Linked DNA regions of Homo sapiens: all the other regions are linked to region 3. The links are contacts of gene promoters, found by promoter capture Hi-C in blood cells and fetal thymus (Javierre and others, 2016). All regions are on one chromosome and are shown on one strand. Each heading gives the region's core, a stretch centred on a gene start or on the middle of the fragment in contact. The rest is flanking DNA. Distances are from core to core; before and after follow the strand shown. Region 1 overlaps CHPT1 (choline phosphotransferase 1). Region 2 overlaps MYBPC1 (myosin binding protein C1). Region 3 holds the start of SPIC (Spi-C transcription factor).

Evidence for each region. Contacts are between HindIII fragments. The CHiCAGO score rates a contact against its expected background, and 5 or more counts as called.
Region 1: a fragment that was not itself captured here is called in contact with the fragment with the promoter of SPIC in region 3 in 1 of 17 cell types (M1 macrophages); the score reaches 6.1 in M1 macrophages.
Region 2: a fragment that was not itself captured here is called in contact with the fragment with the promoter of SPIC in region 3 in 1 of 17 cell types (M1 macrophages); the score reaches 5.4 in M1 macrophages.

The regions. Positions count from the first base shown.
Region 1 is chr12:101,715,103-101,717,802 of GRCh38, reverse strand. It overlaps CHPT1 (choline phosphotransferase 1), which reads right to left. Exons shown (of 9, transcript NM_020244.3): 4 at 991-1,075. Among named protein-coding and RNA genes, the nearest start is that of CHPT1, 19 kb to the right of the region's middle. The HindIII fragment of the contact is 1,935 bases long and covers 465-2,399 here.
Region 2 is chr12:101,652,334-101,655,143 of GRCh38, reverse strand. MYBPC1 (myosin binding protein C1) reads right to left here. Exons shown (of 32, transcript NM_002465.4): 17 at 2,360-2,466; 18 at 1,896-2,029. Among named protein-coding and RNA genes, the nearest start is that of CHPT1, 44 kb to the left of the region's middle. The HindIII fragment of the contact is 1,258 bases long and covers 706-1,963 here.
Region 3 is chr12:101,473,902-101,476,918 of GRCh38, reverse strand. It overlaps SPIC (Spi-C transcription factor), which reads right to left and starts at 1,583. Exons shown (of 6, transcript NM_152323.3): 1 at 1,417-1,583; 2 at 12-91. The coding sequence starts at 14. RefSeq lists an enhancer at 2,243-2,938. The HindIII fragment of the contact is 10,024 bases long and covers 1,278-3,017 here.

The DNA of each region.
Region 1 (2,700 bases), core at 183-2,682, 240 kb before region 3:
ATAAGTTTTCAAATCATTTAGGTAAATAACAAGGAGTGTGACTGCTGATCATGTTTACCACAAAACTATGTTTAGTTTTGTATCACTTACTATTTTTACTAGATATATAGCTTAGTGATTACATACAGTCTGGAATCAGTCTGTTTAATTCCTAGCTCCAGCACTTCTCATGTGTCCTTGGACAAATTACTTAATCACCCTAAGACTTATTTATAAAGCATAATACTAATAATATCTATTTTATAGGATTGTTCTGAGGGGCAGATAAAACTGAGGGGCAGATGGTGAATGTTTAGGAACATAAGTATTGAATGACTGTTAGTTGTTGACTATTGATATCCTTATTATTATTATTCTTAACACTATGAGCAGAAAGTGTGAGTCAGTTAGCCAGTATGGTGGACTTACGTTGTGGTAACAGGACAACTGTTTCTTCAGAAATGTTCTTCTTTTGCAAAAAAGCTTGAATTTATGACAGTGGCCTCCTAAGAGCCAACTTTTATGAAACTACTGAGGTCACCAAGCAGGCAGAAAATAAAAACATTCCTTAATATGGGAATCTTCACCTCAAAGTAGATTATAAAAATGCAAATTAACTACTTTCCTAATATTGAGTGACAAGTTTTAAATGTAAAACATTTTACTGGATTTATTTTTAAAATATTTATTTTATTTCACCCTGGAAAAAGTTATTCCAATGTGTGTTTTTTGTTGTTGTTTTTGTTTTATTTAGTATTAGGGAAATGAGGTTGTCTTCTTCTATGTGGCAATATACTCAAGCATAGGAGGAAATGCCATAAGGTATATAGGATAATACACATTATAAAATGAAGAAAAAAATGTTAAGAAATGGAACAAATATTAAATACACCAATTAAAAAAAAAAAATTAAATACAATGCCAAGGATTTTTGAAGAAAATTAACAATGCAATACTTTTTCCTAAATATTTGAAAAGTACTTAAATATAAATTTAAATATTCAGATTTACCGTATAGTCCCACATTGTTGCTCCTCCAAATGCAGACAACACAAAGACAATCACTAAAGCTATCTGAATTTCAGTTACATCCACTCTAAAGAGGAAGGACAAAGAATAGATAAGGTGTTTGTAAATAAAATTCCTGAATATGGAGGTTCATCACATATTAAATAGCAAAGATGTAAAAATCTCTGTAGGCTTAGTTTATTTTTACCTTTACTTCCATTATTGAATTATCAGTTGACTACACTGTTAAGTTAAAAAAGTTACAGAACAACATGTGCTCACACATAGGTAACGGTATATGCAGAGGGAAAAAAATATATACCATATATCAAATTGCTAATAGTTATCACTGATGTTATAAAGACTTTTATTTTCTAATTTATGAACTCCTGTAAAGTCTGAAGTTTTTTCACAATAATTACCCACTACTTGTGTACATAAGGAAAAATTATAATAAAAACAACCATATGATTTAAGGCAAATTTAAATACTCCCAGGTCAATTTCACTTAAAAAGCAGGGAAAATTCCAATAGTCTTCTTTATTGAGGTACTAATAGTCACTGTAGTTTTTTTAGTTTCCATAGACATTTTTCCCCTAGTAAATATGCTTAAATTTCTCAAAAAACCACTAACCAATCAGCATCAGTCCCTCTAGTCTGCATTCCCCTGAAGCTGTCACTCTCTCTCCTATGCTCCACGAATAGGCTCACTGAAAATTAGTCAACATTTGTAATTTTCTCCTCTCTTCACGTTTGTTGCTTAACACACTCTAGTCTGGCTTTTGGCCCCATTATTCTACTAAAATTGTTTAAGGTAAATTGACCTTCAATTTTCAATTCCAATTAAAGGATACAAATCTAAGGGATACATTTCATTAATTATCTTGCATAACTTCTTTACAATATTTAAGATGCTGATCATACCCTCTTTCTTGAAAAGCTCTGCTGTGTTTTTATCTATTCCATGTTCTCTCCTGATTTTCCTACCTTGCTGGAGCTCTTCTCACGCTCCTTCCTAGACTGCCTCTTCATTCATATCTTAAATGATGCTTTCAGAATTCCATCTGGAATTCTTATAGTCTATGAACAATTTTATCTATACTTAAAACTACCATCTATATGCTAATGACTTCTAAATCCTTATCTCCAATCTACATTTTTTCCTGAGCTGTAGATTTTTATATCTGTCTACATACTTTACATCTCTGCCTGGATGCCCCAATGTCTTTAGATGGAGGTAATACCCACCTTACGGGATAAATGTAAGGAATAAATAAGATAATGCCTGTGAAGCTCTTAGTACAATGCCTGAAACATGTAAGTGCTCGATAGGTGGTAAATACAATTATTCCATAATTGAGAATCAACTGCCTGAAGCCTGCCCTCTGCTAAATGATCCATAGTTTTAAGCTTCTCCTATCATTTATCATTAGAGAGTTTTTTCAGAGCTACTGTTTCTCCTTTTCAGCAATAAAGTGGGGCTAAAAAGAATCAGTAGGCATGGGAAGCCAAAGCCAAAATGAGCAAATGACAAAGTTCTTAAAAGGATCAGACCGAGAGGGAACTATATGAAAAAGAGGAACAGAGAATAGTATTCCTGCTTTGTGCACTATTTCCTGGTCTCTAAGAAAGAGGCAACAGAGGCAGATAATACTATCTAATGTTTAGCACTAGCATTTACAAGGTGCTTTTACATTATCTCACCAATTGCCT
Region 2 (2,810 bases), core at 85-2,584, 180 kb before region 3:
TATTTTCATATGCTCGACTGCTATTCTAATTTACATGTGAGATCTGAATTGGCTGTAACTGACTTTTCTCCTCATTTTGAGCTGTGTTTTCCTGCTTATTTCTCTACCATAATGTTTGACTGGATGGCAGGATATTGCTAATTTTGTCATGTTGGGTGCTTGATATTTTTGTATTCCTATATAAATCTTGAGCTTTGTTTTGAAATGCAATTAAATTATTTGGAAATTGATTGAATCTTTTAGACTTGTTTTTATGACTTATTAGGTGGGTCCATGACAGTGCTCAGTCTAGGGTTAATTATTCCTGCAACCAAGGCAAGGCTTTCCTGAGTACTCTACTCAATGCACTGTGAATGATGAGGTTTTCATGTCTAGCTAGGGGGAACAGGCACTACTATTGGCCTTGTGTGAGTGCCAGTCCACTTCTCTTTAATCCTTTCATATGTTCCTTTCTTGAATCTTGGGTAGTTTCCTCATAAATGTGCACTGATCTTTGCTGAATACTTGAGCGTGTTCCTCTGCAGAGCTCCAGGGGGACTCTCTGTGCAGCTCTCTCCTCCAGTATGTATAGTATGTATCCTATGAACTCTAGCTGCCTTGGTCTCCTTGTACAATGGGAGTCCTAAACTTAGGGAGTCCACTGGGTTCTGTCCAGGTTTTTCTTCCTTGTGCCACTGCCTGGATACTCTTTTATGGCAATAAGCTTGAGGCAATTATAGGGCTTATTTCATTTGTTTATCATATTTCATAGTCATTGTCTTTCACGATCTGATGTCCAATGTCTTGAAACCCATTGTTCACATATTTTGTCTATTTTGGGGGTTATTTCAAGTGAGTAGGTAAATCTGGTTCCTGTTATTCAATTCTGGTTGAAAGTAGAAGTCTCATTCTGCTTTTTATTATTTAATTTTATTTTTAACATTAAAAAAATTTGTTTTGAGATAGAGTCTCACTCTGTCACCCAGCTGGAGTGCAGTGGCGTGATCTCGGCTCACTGCAACCTCTGCCTCCCGGGTTCCAGCAATTCTTGTGCCTCAGCCTCCTGAGTAGCTGGAATTAGAGGCATGCTGCCACCATATTTGGCTAATTTTTTTGTATTTTTAGTAGAGATGGGGTTTCTCCATGCAGGCTCAGGCTGGTCTGGAACTCCTGGCTTCAGGTGTTCTGCCTGCCCCAGCTCCCAAAGTGCTGGGATTACAGGCATGAGCCACCATGCCCAGCCTCATGTCTTCTTTTTAAATGTAATTTTTCTTTTTTTGCTTTTATTTTTGTAGAAAGCCACGGAGTCACACTTGAGCTGGCACTACTCTACCATTTCACCCTCACTTGCATTTCTCCCAATCATTCACTTTGCCCCAGCCATGCTGGCTTTCCTTCTGTTCCTCCAACACATCAGGCTTATTCTCTCCCCTTGGCCTTTGCACTTGTAATTGCCTCCGTATGGAAATGTCTTCCGTTTGATCTTCACATAATGGGTTCCTTGTTCTTCACAGAGGCTGCCATTGACTATGCAGTTACTTGCTATTGTATCATTCTCTTTTATTATCTTCTTGTACTTATTACTATCCAAAGTGACTTTGTTCATTTATTTATTTAATAATTCATTTTCTTTTTCATCCCCCCAATTTCATTAGAATAAAAATGAGGCTTTTTCACTGTGCATCAAAACATGCTTTGCTACATAATAGTCAGAAATATGAGAAGTAAATTAATGATGATCAGATTTGCCTGAAAATCAGTCATCTTTCTTTTTCAAAGGAATTACATCTTTACTGTACTGCTGTACATTTATTTGTTTTCTACCTTCATCTGAATAATGGAGGGCAAGGGGTGGGGTAGGCAGTGTGTCTGCATATGTGTGTGTGCATGTGAGTGTGTGCAAGCATAAAACAAACCTTATCTCCCCGGCTCCACATGGCTTTAGGAGGTGGTTCTCCGCTGATGGGGATCTCAAGACGAAGCTTGTTTCCTGCAATCACTGTCACTGTGTTGTCAGCATCAAGACCATCCAGGATGATCTTAGGAGGATCTAGAATATTAAGCATAGTCTTTGTTATCAGACAGTCATTTCTGTGTAAATATCTGCACTAATGTTTGGCTAGTATGATGGTAGTAACCAATATTTTATCTAATCAAAAAGAATATAAGAGGAGTCAAGATAGTTGGTGCCTGGCACCTTGCAAAACCATTTTATTGTAAGGTGTTGGTATAAGTCACCAATCTTTCTGATTGGTGATTAATACCAATTGATGTATTTTTCCTTAAATGTCACTTAGTTTTGAATATATTATAATTCCATGGTAAGCAAAAGCAAACAAAAAAGAACACAACTATGCAATGAATTATTTTATCTACTCACCAATAACATGAACTTTGGCAGGCAGAGTAACATTGTAGGCATCAGGTGCAAATACATAATCACCTTCATCTTCAGTGAGGGCATTGGCTATCACTAACTTGTGGATCCTAAGGAAACAAGGAAAATGTATTTCTAAGACTCCAAAGATCTAGTTTATATATGACCCAAGCTGAAAAGACACTTGACCTTTATCTGATTAACTTCTTTAGTGCAGGAAAGAGAGGGAGAGAGAGAGAGAAAGAGAGAGAGAGAGAGAGAGGATGAGAAGCCTTAATTATCCTACTTATTGATTCAAATTAAATCTTTATTTTGGACTATATGGAATTATCTCCACAAATAGAATCTGCTTATTGTATATGCAGAGTCTATTATTCTTTTTTTTCATCTCATAGCTTTAAAAAGGCTAAAATAGAACATATCAATAATGCTATACTTTAAGATTCAAGAGATG
Region 3 (3,017 bases), core at 334-2,833:
TGTCAGCTTACCATATTTCATTAATAAATTGACAATTCTGTTCCTTAGCAATTGTTGCTTGAAGAAAATAAAATAAAATAAGTTGACAATCCTGAAAAAGTTTAATATTTAAAAAGCAAAATTAAATGCAGTCTCTAATTTGATTCTGAATAAGATCTTGCTCAAAAATATTTTCTGAAAATACCTTACATAAACCAAGAGTACCTCCTGAATTCTCTTTGATGAGTACAAATTTTTTTCTACGAAATTTTCTACAAACATTTCTTTTTGCTTTTCCATGATTACAAAATGCTTTAAATATTAAAATAGCTATATATTTAATTATCTGAGCTGCTTGATTGATAAGAGAAAGTGGAAATAACTCAAAAGTATATATAAGTATTTCAAAATTATTTTAAATATTCTAAAATTCTGAAAATCAAAATCCTTTTTACCTTAGCATAGCTTTATAAAAATAGGGCTTTTTTAAAAAACCTTTCTTTGGTGTTATATTGCCTTCTGAGAATCTGGCAAAAGCCATCCTTTTCCTCCCATGAAAATTGGACTTATATTGCAAATAAAATTTAGCCTGTGAAGACTATCCTTGGACTTGCTTGAATCCTAGGCTAAGAAAACTCGTCTATAATTTTGTTATTTACTTTCTTATCTCTAAGTAATTCTGATTTTGCTTTAGAGAAACAATTATCACACCGACCCACAATTAAATGCTTTTAACTCTACGTTCTATAGACCAACACAGGGAACAAACAAACAAAAACCAACCCACATAATAAAAAGAACTGTGGTGGGTCCAAAATTGCTTATCATTCCATTAAGTAAACCCAGCAGTTCTTTTTATGCAAGTATTTATCTTCTTAGTATTTACCCGCAAACACAATGTGTTTACTCTTTAGTGTTTAACTTTGAATAATAAAATGAGATGATGTAATCTAATGCCAATATTATATATATCCATCATATATCAACATAACATATTAAATATCAAAATTCTGCTTGGCTCTTTGAAATCATTACATCATGTCAGTTAAAAGAAAATAGAAGAAAATCCAGAAATCACTCTTCGGCTCATGGTCTTTAGTGAATATTATCAGTAGCACATATTTTTTAAAAGCCATGTCAGTGATTTTCAATTAACTGCTTTGACTCAAAAGTGCAGAAGCACTGAATGTTGTATTTTGAATTAAATATTTAAAAATGAACATGTTCTCTTTGACTAAAATGCTCCACAAGACTATCGCAGCTATTACAAGTAGCAAATCTAAAAGGAAGAAAAAGCTTGAAAACATTATTGATTACTATGATTGCTTAATATTTCTTGCATCTGAACACGCAGACAGTGAGAAACACTCATTAGGCCAAAGGAAAAAATGAACAGTGATTAGAAGATATTTAGAAAAACATAAGCTGAGAACTTACCGGGAAGACACTTCAACCCTTTATAGAGATGTTTCATTAATATCAGAACGGTAAATTCAACGGTAGGCTATCATGAAAATAAAAAATTATTTTCCAGTGCAATGGCTCTGATGAAAAAAAATAGTAATATTTTTTTTAAAAATTAGAATTGTTAAGACATAACCATCAAGAACATACTGGCAGAGTTGCATTAAATAGCTGTTTTTAAGGAAGTTCTTCAAAAGGGGATTTTTTTTAAAAGATACAGTGCCTTCACAATTTCTATTTCATGATATGATTAGTAGACACCAGGGGCTATTATTTTGAAGAGGCACATAGTAGTTTGCATCCCATCAGCCAAAAAGCAAAAAAGCATTAGAACAAGCCCCATGAATCCCCCGCCCAACTTAGGTTGCAGCTCTTCAGATTGCATAGCCCCACCGGAAACTTCTAACCCAGGCAACTCAGGCCCACCCTTCTTTTTTTAATTCATATTACTTCTCTCCCAATTCTGGACTCTATACTCTCTTTCTTGCCTGGACTGTCAACAGCCTTCACTCTGGACTCTCCAAATCGGTCTTTCCTCCTAAACTACTTTACTTACACTGCCATTCACTGATCGCCTTAGAGAGCTTAAAGGCTTAGGGCCCTTGTCCTGACATTCAAGGCTCTTGAGCCTTAGCCTTATATCTTGCCACTCAGTTGAGTGGGGATAATAGAATCCATGCTCTTGCTTTCCTCCACACCTAAATTCAGTAGCGGCTCCAAAATGGTTAGGAAAACCTTATGGGGGGCCATGTGGTTGGACATACCTGAGGCTGCTGCATTCCTAATGCAGGTCCCGTTCTCTTACTTGGCTTCAAGGTTTATTTGGGGTGGCTCTGTTGGAAATTATGAGACGCTCCCTCCACCTAAAATACTTTCCTCCCAGTTCATCCCCCTGCAGATTCGCCCATTTTATGTTACCTGTCCATCAGTGTCCAAAGCAGCATCCACTTGTACACGGTGGAAATAACCTTCCTGTCCCCTGAAACACATGTCTGCCTCTCACTTGGCTAACCTGAAACCTGCCATTTTAATAGCTGTCACATTTTGGCCAGGGGGAAAACCGCCTAAGAATTTTTTGTAAACCTTGTGGGTGGGGAGAGTGAAGAGGGTCTGTGATTTCAAAGCTGCCAGTAACTTCAGTTTTGCATTGTTGGAGCCTAACCTCACCTTTGATAGGGGACTATTGTTTTGGACCAATTACTTTTTTGAGCCAATTTGTTATGCAAATGTTAACACACAGTCCTTCTTCTGATATGCAGATCTTATAATAACAGGTATAAAACGGTAATCACTAATGTTGATTTGTTTTTAATCTGTACTAGTCTACACCCTTTTCAAGCCACCTTATTTGGTTCATTCGTTCAACATATTACTGAGCTCTTCACTCTTCTGGGCACTGCCCCATGTCCAGGAGCTACAGCCCTGAACAAATCCTTATGAGAAGAAATGATTTTTAAAAAATAAACACATTGGTAAAGTATTAGATAAGAAGTGTCAAAAACAACAATACAAAAGAGAAAGATTATGAAGACAGTGTGCGAATAGCCAGGAAAAATCTCTGAGGAGGAAAGCGG